2 separate regions of the Homo sapiens genome follow, and region 2 is linked to region 1. The links are contacts of gene promoters, found by promoter capture Hi-C in human tissues and cell types (Jung and others, 2019). All regions are on one chromosome and are shown on one strand. Each heading gives the region's core, a stretch centred on a gene start or on the middle of the fragment in contact. The rest is flanking DNA. Distances are from core to core; before and after follow the strand shown.

The links. The method cuts DNA at HindIII sites, captures the fragments that hold promoters and counts their contacts. A contact is called where the count stands out against the background at its distance.
Region 2: a contact is called between a fragment that was not itself captured here and the fragment with the promoter of XYLT1 in region 1, in 2 of the 25 tissues and cell types used here (IMR-90 fibroblasts and lymphoblastoid cells).

What each region holds. Positions count from the first base shown.
Region 1 is chr16:17,467,674-17,473,206 of GRCh38, reverse strand. XYLT1 (xylosyltransferase 1) reads left to right here and starts at 2,247. Exons shown (of 12, transcript NM_022166.4): 1 at 2,247-2,773. The coding sequence starts at 2,411. LOC107987234 (a long non-coding RNA gene) reads left to right here and starts at 2,780. Exons shown (of 2, transcript XR_001752091.2): 1 at 2,780-5,533. LOC105371106 (a long non-coding RNA gene) reads left to right here. Exons shown (of 3, transcript XR_933144.3): 3 at 1,103-2,200. RefSeq lists enhancers at 1,752-2,253, 3,028-3,077, 3,198-3,467, 5,063-5,132. The HindIII fragment of the contact is 9,248 bases long and covers 1,185-5,533 here.
Region 2 is chr16:17,704,140-17,709,672 of GRCh38, reverse strand. No RefSeq gene overlaps it. Among named protein-coding and RNA genes, the nearest start is that of XYLT1, 240 kb to the right of the region's middle. The HindIII fragment of the contact is 4,995 bases long and covers 612-5,533 here.

The DNA of each region.
Region 1 (5,533 bases), core at 998-3,497:
AAAAAAAAAAAAAAAAAAGACTTAAAAGATAGACTTAAGTCTTATTACTGTTAGTAATAGATGTTATTGCTTGTAAACAAAATATCCCCAACTGATAAACAGATGACTGGTGGCCCTAGAAACTTGCCTCTGGTCTTTTACTCCTGGTTAGGGGTGCTGGGCCCAAAGGGAAGGCCTCTATGCCAGGCTACATGCCTGGCTAAGCTTTAGATACAACTAAGGTTGATTGGTTTGGAGTTTACAACCCCCACTAGCATACATTTTATACTTTTCTTGTTCAGGCAAGTGGACTGGCTAATTACATGGGTTCAGAAAGCATTTTTTCTTGGCGCTTACTCCCGTCCTGCCCTCATGAACCCTTAGCATTTTTGCACATCTCTACAGCAATGCTTATCTCACCATATATATATATATAATATTATATATATTTACATATAAATATATATATTATATATATGTTATATATTATATATTATATATATTATATGTACATATATATAAATATATTATATATAATATATTTATTATATACATTATATATAATATATATATATACAATATATATATATTTATATATACGTTTTTTAGATGGAGTCTTGCTCTGTAACCCAGGCTGGAGTGCAGTGGTGTGATCTCGGCTCACTGCAGCCTCTGCCTCCTGGGTTCAAGAGATTCTCCTGCCTCAGCCTCCTGAGTAGCTGGGATCAGGGGTGTGTGCCACCATGCCCGGCTAATTTTTGTATTTTTAGTAGAGACGGGGTTTCACCATGTTGGCAAGGCTGATCTCGAACTTCTGACCTCAGGTGATCCTCCTGTCTTGGCCTCCCAAAGTGCTGCGATTACAGGCATGAGCCACCGCGCCCAGGCCTATCTCACTATATTTTAATGATTAACATCCACATCAGGCTTCTCTAGACCTCAGGCTTGCTGAAGATGAGATTAAACCTCATTCACCTTTGGATGCGTGCACCTGGCCCAGTGTCTGACACAAGCTTTGTATTCACGGATGCTTGTGGAGTGGATGAAACAATCTCTTCCCACTCCCTGCCTCATTGTCTGATGAGCCTTCATTACACTCCACTTTCTTCTCTTTGTAAATTAGGATGAGGTGAAAAAGCACAGCAGACAAGATGCGAAGCATTCACGCCAAGTCCTCAATTCACAAACTGATTTGATCTGCTGTTGTATTCCCAGAGTGCTAGGTCCCGTATGGGACACCAACGCCATCCCATATGCTCACTGTTCTGCGCTGCTGTGTATAAAGCCCTGGGCAAGAGGACAAGGGAGGGAAAAACCAGAAAGACTGAGTCAGAGAAGGCTCGGGATGAAATTTGAGTCCATTGGGATCATTCTGCCTAAACGACAGAGGAGAAAGCTTGGGCTCAGGGAGGAGTCCTCCTCCTCCTGGCTCAAGGTCACCGGGACAGACCAGTCAGGATGGGAAAGAACTCCACTTTCAAGAGCAAGACCTGTTTCCCCAGGACCTGGGCCCTGTGCAGACAGGAAGGGGGACTTCAGGATGGATGGGGAAAAGGACACGCTGGGAGGCTGCGGGGCCAGCCTTTGGGGCTTGCATCCTGCGAAGGTTGAGTAACTCCACGGGTCTCCCTTTTGCCGCTATACCACTTGCCAACTGGGTTTGGAGTCTCTTGGCTTGTGAGTCCTCAGGGACCAGAGAAGTGACTCAGTGAACACTTAGTACATCGTTGGCACCGGGGATTGTGTGTGATTCAGGAGTCACTCACAGAGCTTGTGCTGATTAACTCCAGAAACTCACCCAAAGCCTCCTCCCCACCCCTTCAAGCCCAGGATGAAGGGATCAGACTGTGGCTCTGACACTCCTGAAATGTTTCTCACGTGTCCACCTGCCAACCGGTCTGGTACCGACAGAAGATCCCTGGACCGCGAACTCCGGGGCTAGGAGCTTCCTCCACGCACTGCCTCCTTCCAGCGGCCCACAGGGAAAACAGGACCTCGGGACCCCCTCTCTTCCTGACCTCCCCTGGATTCTGAGCGGGCCCACCCTCAACCAAAGGTCCCCTGTTTCGCGGCCCCTGCCTCTCTTTTTCCGCCTTGGGAATTGTCCCCCTCGCCCCCCATCCTACTCCCACTACGTCCTGAGGGGTGTCTGTCTTCTCTGATCGCCCCCACCCCCTTCCTTTCCCTCCTCCTTTTCCTCCCTCGGCTCCTCCCCCAGGCCCCGCCCTCTCCGCCTCGGCCCGCGTCCCCCCGGCGCCTTCCCCATCACCCTCCCCTCCAGCGGGGACAGGGGTGTGGGGAGGGGGGCGGCGGCGGCGGCCCGAGCGGGAGCCCGAGCGGCAGCCGGCGGCCGCGGGAGCTGCGGGGAGCGCGGGGGCGGCCCGGAGCGTGCCGGGGTCCCCGCGCCTCGCTCGCCGGCCGCGCTCCGAAGATGGTGGCGGCGCCGTGCGCCCGGAGGCTGGCCCGGCGCTCGCACTCGGCGCTGCTCGCGGCGCTCACGGTGCTGCTGCTGCAGACGCTGGTCGTGTGGAATTTCAGCAGCCTCGACTCCGGGGCCGGGGAGCGCCGCGGGGGCGCAGCGGTCGGCGGCGGGGAGCAGCCGCCCCCGGCCCCGGCCCCGCGCCGGGAGCGCCGGGACCTGCCCGCCGAGCCGGCTGCAGCCCGAGGAGGAGGAGGAGGCGGCGGCGGAGGAGGAGGAGGACGGGGGCCCCAGGCGCGGGCGCGGGGAGGCGGCCCCGGAGAACCGCGGGGACAGCAGCCGGCCAGCCGGGGGGCACTGCCCGCCCGGGCTCTGGTAAGATGCCCTTTCGGCTCGCGCCCCGCGGCGAGGGAGGGAGGAAGGCAGCCCGACCCCACGCCCCCCTAGCCCTTGAACTCGGTCATCAGACTGGGACTCTGCAAGCCTACCGACTCCACATCGCCTCTTGCCCCGGGAAGCCGGGTGGGGTCCCTGCCAAGGCTCAGGGGTCGTGGGCTGCCCCTTTCAGAGTCTGAGCACGGACCCCTTGGGGTCTGGGGGAAGTTTTCTCCAGCGGGGGCGCTTTGGGGGTTACCGGAGCCTGGCTGGGTTCCTGTTCCCCATCACTCTTGCTGGGGACCCCAGGTGACTTGCTCCGTGCGTGTAGGTCTTGGTGACTCGCTCCCTGCCTGAGTGAGTGGATCTCCCCGGATCCTCAGCCGCTGTTCCTGGGCGGTTGTCGCAGCAGCATCTCTCTGGTTTTTGCCGAGCTGGGTGCAGACAGTTGAGCCCTCTGTTCGTCCTGGCCTGCGATGAGGGCTGAGCTGGGCGTCCCAAGTCCCCGACCATGCCCCTGAATCAATACTCAGTCCGGGGTGTCTGGTCTTACTTTGGGTCTTCTGTTTCTCTTCTCTGGATGTTTGAGCCTTCCGTCTTCACCTTCTCTGTCTCTAACCTTGCCGTCTCCCATGCCCTCTGTGACTTTATCTCCTCCCCATCTCCAGTTTCAGGGCATGGCTCCTTCTCCTAGCTGGTTGTCTCTGTCTTTCTGTCTTGTTGCGGCCGGTTCAGGTCACCAGCTGTGTGTCCGACCACACCGTCAGGGCTTCCACTCCTATGGGATTACTTTGCCCTTCGTGGGTGTGAACAGTCAGGGCTCTGAAACTGTTTTTTCCGCAGATCTGGGGCCATCTGGGTGGCTGGGTGGGGAACTGACTTGTCTTCCTACCCTGTCCCTAACTTCTCCAGGGATACCTTTCCCACCTTCTCTGGGCTGCCTTGCCCAGCCTACTGAGCTAGGAGCAGGAGCACATGGGGCAGGAGGCCGGAGTCCCCATTTCAGAGCCAAGGTCTCAGTTCTCCAGGGGCGTGAGTTCTGCCTTAGGGCATAGCCAATGTGTTGTGTGTCTGTCTGTTTCTTCATCACACTACTTGTCTGCAAGGATTTGCCTAGCCGTTAAAGGATATTAGACACCAGGGGGATGGTTTCAGGATCCTGAAGACTGAATGCATATTTCTATCATTTGTCACTTTGGAAGTCCTCACTGAAGACTGCCTTAGTACACAGCGTGATGCTTTCTGAGCTGCTAAACTTCTTCGGAGTCTGTGCGACCCTTTCTGCCGGAGTGCAGCTCTTCATGCCTGAGAACTGAGCCAGTCCCAAGACGTGATGTGATGGCATTTCACGTTGCTGTGTGGGTAGCAGGGAGAAGTCTTTCCCTCATTTGCGGGGAGAATAGTGGCGTGAGCTGCCTGACGGAGAACCAGAACATTCCTAGTGTCCTGCGATCTCTTCTTTACAGAGAGGGGTACTCTGAAACGCTGCCTTTGAACTCTTGGAGTTGATAGTGATGGGTTCCCGCAGAAATGCAATTAGAAGTTCTTTGTGCATCCAGAGCCCAGGAGGTGGGGTGGGAGGGTTGTGGGTCGTGTCCTGCTGGTCCAGTGTAAGAACGTGTAGGGGAGACATGGTGGGGGAAGCCTGGGGCTTACTGTATCATTTGCATCTGGGGGTCAGAGTGGGTTCAGGAGGTACCTTTAGGATGCATGTAGCACCTGTTGAAACAAATGAAGAGAAGGAAGGAGGCAGGGCTAGCTGATTTCTTCATAGGTCCCCGGCATTGTGAGCATCCACCCCCAGCCCCTCTCTGTGTGCTCGGCTCAGTGTTTTACTCTCTCACACCCAGCTCAGCCTCTGAGAGATCTGCGGTTGGGGAGGTAGGTGGGAACACACTATTTTCCTTTTTACTTCCTTTTGGAATTGCAGTTCCAGCAGCGGAGGTGCTTTGCTTTTCTGAAACTCTGCTTCCAACTGCAAGTTCAGTTACTCTCCCCAAATCTGCATGTCCTAATGTCTCAATTTCTTTACCTTCCAAGATGGACATTTATGTATTTTTTTTTTCTTTTGGTTCTCTTCTCTTCTTGGTGGCTGTCTACCATGCTGTTGACTGTTGTCTCTTGGGGCTTTGTATTTTATTTCATTTGCTTGTCTCCTTTCTTTCCTCTCCCCCCACACCTACTCCATGACCTGCTAAATCCTGAAATCACAGTACAGACAGGCTGGCTGGAGCCCGGGGTCTGTCCTACTCTGACTGTGCCCACCCAGTTCCTGCCCTTCCATGGAGCTCCAGGAGACCAGAAGGGGGCAGGCTGTTCCCAAAGTCTGGTATAGCTGGAGCTTGGGTTGCAGGCAAGGAGAGGACCAGACCTTTTCGCAAGCAATAGAGGCCGTTGAAATGTGCAGTTTGTTTCCAGACCCTGCGGAGGCTGCCAGGATGATGCTTTGGAGGGAGATTCAGGAGTGGGACATTTAAAGAAACAAATCCCCGTGATTTTCCAGATGGCTCTTGTAGAGAGGTGGTTAGACACATGCTTAGAAGAAGATGCTTTAGCTCAGTGCTCTGTTGCAGGTGGGGATGGGGTGGGTGGACAGCCTTGGCTCTTGCATGTAGAGGGAACCTGTGTCCTGGGTTGCTGGTGGGTGTGTTGCAGAGAGTGTCAGGCAGGCATTGTGTATAGGGCATTTCCTAAGCCAGATCTTCCTCCTTCCTGATGCCCACAGCCTCAGAGCATTTGTCCTTTTTATGTTTGGGGAGC
Region 2 (5,533 bases), core at 1,860-4,359, 240 kb before region 1:
GGAACAATAAATATTAATTACCTACAGGTTTTGTGGGCTCCAGGTTTTCGGCATTGTGCCTGCACTGAAAGCAAGTAGCTCCAGCTTCTCAGGGCTGCTCTCTGGCCACTAGAGCCAGGCAGTCACCTAGCTGCTCTTACACTGCATACCTGTGTCTGAGTACTCATTTCATCCATGGGCTGGGTTATGCAGGACAGACTTGGCAACCTGGGAGGTGTTTTAAACTAGAATGCTAGTCTTTATCCCCAGAGTTTCTGATTGACCAGGTCTGGGGTGAGGCCTGAGGATTTACATTGCTAACAAGTTCCCAGGTGATACTAATGCTGCCATTGCAGGGACCATACTTTGAGAGCCACTGTTCTGTTTACATTTCTGACCTTCTGAAAAGTTGAAACAATAAGCATAAGAAGAAAATAGAGTTTGCGGCATGTACTGCTGCAGTGACTCTATCTGGCTGAGAGTGTGGTGTGTGTGTGTGTGTGTGTGTGTGTGTGTGTGTGTGTGTGTAGACACATCTCTTAGGATTAAGAATGCTGCTCCTCTTACCTTCTGGCCAGTACTTTTCTCCAAGTTAGATTATTTGATTGGATGTAAAAGAATGCTATTGATGATAGCAAAGACTTGGAACCAACCCAATGATAGACTGGATAAAGAAAATGTGGCACATATACACCATGGAATACTATGCAGCCATAAAAAAGAATGAGTTCATGTCCTTTACAGGAACATGGATGAAGCTAGAAACCATCATTCTCAGCAAACTAACACAGGAACACGAAACCAAACACCACATGTTCTCACTCATAAGTAGAAGTTGAACAATAAGAACACATGGACACAGGGGAACATCACACACCGGGGCCTGTGGGGGTGGGTGGGGGGGTGGGGGCGTATAGCGGAGGGAGAGCATTAGGCCAAATAACTAATGCATGTGGGGCTTAAAACCTTGATGACAGGTTGATGGGTGCATCAAACCACCATGGCACATGTATACCGATGTAACAAACCTGCATGTTCTGCACAAGTATGCCAGAACTTAAAACAAAAAGAATGCTATTGATGGATGTGGCCTAGACAACACTAAACCAAGTGTCGATTCTGAAGAGTAACAGTTTCTTTCTGCTTGGCAAGTACCTTACATGTCTGAGACAGTGGTAAGGTTGTCGAAGAGATGTGTGCAGGAGATACAAGGGGCTGTAGGGAGAGTGAGTGTCCTACAGTATGTCTAGTGAGACATTTACATGCCCATTTTCAGTTTTATCCATCAGTCTTGTTAGTGGAAGCTTCTCCCTGATTTTGACAGTAGGTTCATACTGAGTCCCTGTGGAGTGGAATAGCCAAACCAGATTTTTCCCTTCTTTAGCTAAAGAAGCTGCCAGCTGCTCTTCATTCTGGTGGGGAAAAGAAGGTCAATTGAGAGCAGCTGTCTATGCTCTTTAATAAGCAGATATAAGCTGAGCAGACCTAGATTTGGAAACTATTATAATGAGGTCTTCGATTTGACATAGAGGCCCTACCTACACACTTCTCTTTGTCTGCAAAGGGGAGAAGGGCACTTTGCATATAGAGGCCAGGGGTTTTCTAAGAAGACGCTAACATTCCCACAATACTTGGTCCCGATTATTTCACTTAAGACGTTCTACTAAGAGGGCTGGAGGGTACCTAACTAAGAGTCAGTGGAAGAGCAGAGTAATGGGATAATCATAATGAAAGTAATTATAAGCATAGAGAGAAACTAGACCAATGGTCTCTTTTTGGCACTGATCCATAAAAACATAGCAAATGGTGGTTCTGGGCGTCTAAGATACATAGACCTTAGGAAGACTTCTCATCTTGTATGTCGGCAGTTAGCTTATGGCAGGAAGCAGCTGTGTGTTAGCTAAGTGCTAAGGTCCAAAGCATCTAAGGTTTCAACCTATGAGAAGGCTTCAAATAGGGCTATCCCCCCGTGGCCTGTTTTTCACCAATGCTACAGTTAGTAGACTCTAAACTAAGCCATTCTGGGGGTGCCCGAGGATCTCTACATTTCTAATTTCTCATACCAGTAGACCAAGAGGTGGCCCAAGTGAAACTAGTCCCAACCCAAGGAAGTTTAAACTTGCATGAAATGGGACTGTGCCCAATCATGACTACTCCAATCTTTCTCATTTTCTAGAATACAAGATAAGGGAAGTTGTATGCGTGTACATAAGTTTGTGTTTTTCTTATTACAGAATATGCCAAGTGTTCAAGTTGTAGTCTATTATTAAAACTTAACAGTTTTTAGTAAACTTTTGTAATCTATAGGGCATGTTCCATAGGGGTTATTGGCTTTCGACTTGAAAACCAATACAGTGTCTGCAAACATGTAAACAAACTTGCCTGTGGGATAACTTTTTGCACTATGGTTAGACTATATTGGGTGGTGTGTGTAAATGGTTAAGTGAGGAAATCAAAACACTTTTAACCTGAAGGACTGGGCTTATTTAGATTTGGAATCCTCCTAATCAGCACACTGTCAAATAATTGTTTTTTTCTAAGAAAAGATTTTTGCCTAGTACCTATGACTTCTAGAGGACCAATGGCTTCTCCTAAGCTAGTATACTTTGGACATCACCTACAAGACCAGCCTCTACTAAGCAACTAACTTCCCTCGCAATGGTCCAGACACTGAAATCGCTCTAAATTGAACCTGGGCTTCTTCATACCAAGAAGGTGGTAATCACATTTTTAGATGCATCAAGAGGAAAGGATTGGGACTTTTGAGAGATACAGATTTGATTTTTGGACTGGCCCACTAATAGCAGCGTGTGAGACCTTGAAACCAGCAACGGTGTTGGAACCATCTCCTCCTACCAGATTGAGGGAGCTGACTATGCATATAACTTCCCAAATCCAAGCTCAGTGATGTCATGGTAGTAGCTTGAAATCAGGCTTTGTATGGGTGCTTTCTCCATAGAAATTGGCAAATGCTACAGAATCTTGGCTTTTTGTTTCAGAGATCCATCTGTTAAAACATTTATTAGGCCACCACTGCCTTGAATATTGTGATATGGGGCCAGACAGGAATTAAGGACTCTGCACTTAAATTTATGTTTTATTCCTCTCTCCTCTCCTTATCTCTTTTTCTTCCTTCCTACCTTCTCCCTCCTTTCCTCTTCTTTCCTTCTTGTGGTAATTTTAATGAGATGCATTACAGGCCTGCAGAAATTAAATTAAAATCTGAAGTCTTTCCCTCTTTAAAGTTTTCCCCCTTGCCATCTTCAGAGACTAAGCCTTCAGAATGATCTTTATTCTATTGTTACTAATGAAGTCAGCTGTAGGGCTAACTGTAAATCTTTTGAAGGTAATTTTTTTCTGACTTCTTTTATGTTCTTCTCTTTGTAGCTAGTATTCTGCCATTTCAGTCTGACATGTCTAGATGAGGGGTTTCATTGTTTGTTTTGCTTTTCTTCCTGCTGGATATTTATTGGGCTCCTTGACTCTGTGTTTACTCTCCTGTAATCATTCTGAAAAATTCTCATAATATCATCATAGGTTTGCTTTTCTTCATTCTTTCTGCCTTCACCTGCTTGAATTCTGATTATAAATACGTTAGAATTCCCTGGTCTGTTTGGGTCGTCTCTCAGCTGCTGCTTCATAATTTCTTTCGACTTGTCTTCCAGTTCCCCTATTCTTCTACATTTGTATCTAATCTGAAGTTAAACCTGCTCATTGACTTTTTTAAACCATTTATATATGTTTTATCTTTAGATTTTTGATTTCTTGTCATCTATTTAATAGTCTTCTGTTTAATGAAGGCTGTCTGAAGCCTGTATTTTATTTCATTAAACGTCATAATTATAGTCCTAAGGCAACACACAGATACAGAAAAACACACAAGTCAATTGTATGGTTTAATGAATTTTTATAAAGTGAACATTACAGCTGGGCACGGTGGTTCTTGCCTGTAATCCCGGCACTTTGCGGGGCCAAGGTGGATGGATCACAAGGTCAAGAGATGGAGGCCATCCTGGCCAACATGGTGAAAACCCATCTCTACTAAAAATACAAAAATTAGCCGGGCATGGTGGTACACACCTGTTAACCCAGCTACTCTGGAGGCTGAGAGAGGAGAATTGCTTGAACCCAGGAGGCAGAGGTTGCAGTGAGCCGAGATCACACCACTGCACTCCCGTCTGGGCAGCAGAGCAAGACTCCATCTTAAAAATAATAACAACAACAAATAAATAAAAATGTAGTTTCAAATTGTTTTTTTTTAATTTAAGGAATATTTTCTTGAAATAGCATTTTTAGGATTTCTTCTGTTCCCTTGCTTTGGTTTTCATCTGCACAAATTCCTGCTATCCCTGTGTTCAGCCTCTGTTGCCTGTTTTCAGTATTTCTTAATCTCTCAGCCTTTTTTCTGTTTCTTTTTAATTTTTACTTTTAAAATTGTAACATATTTATTTATTGGTGGTTGCAAAATGTTGATTGTCTTATTTTCTTTCAATGGCTGTGGTAACAAATTGCCACAAACCTAGCTATTTAAAATGACACAAATTTATTCTTAGAGTTCTATAGGCCCAAGGTCCCAAGTGGGTTCATTGGGCTGAAACTAAGGAGTTCGCTCCCTTAAGAGTCTCCAGGGAAGAATTTGTTTTCTTACCTTTTCCAGAGTTGGGAATTGGATTCCTTGGCTCATAGCCCCTTCACCCATCTTCAAAGGCAGCAATTTAGCATCTTCAGATTTCTCTGTGCTTTCACTACTGTTTTGTCTTTCGTCTCTCTGATTCCCTCCTATAAGGAACCCTGAGATTACATCTTGCCCATCAAGATCACCTCCCTATCTCAGGATTCTTAGTCACACCTGCAAAAACCCTTTTGCTGCCATATAAGATAGCATTCATAGGTCTAGGGATTAATATTTGGACAATTCAGGGGGCTCTTATTCAGCCTAACACGATAATGTTCTGATGCTATGATTTGTGTTTCACTTATCAGTCAAGCACTTTGACAGAGGCCGTTTATTTCGTTTACTATGTGATTACCCAGTATGTTCACATGAAAAATGCAGAATATGTGCTTATTTTTCTTTATTTACCAGTTTTCAATATAATGAATTGGTTTCTTGTCATCCCCAAAAGGTATCAGTTTTTTTGTTGTTGTTTGTTTGTTCTTTTTACAAATTGCATTATGAACTCATAGGCTTCAACATACTGGAATTTTAATTCACTACCCCTTATTATCTTTGTTGAAGTTCAACTTCTCCCATCTTTGCCAATGCAAGCCTGTTTGAGTTTGCTACTGGGCCTTTTCTATGTGACCCTTGTGGTCTTTGACAGCTGTAATCCTATCTGGAATTATACTGTATTCCAGGCTAGTCCTGTATATTTCTGATCCCACACTTGGAATCAGCTATTTCTCCAAGAAGCCCTGGTGTCTTTTAGATGAATGGTATTTCAAGACCATAACTTGGGCACTTAGGGATATTCATTGCTGTTGAGTTGGTTGTTGTCTCTAGAAGTTTTTAAGAAACAAATTATAACATAATATACAAAATATCTCATGGATT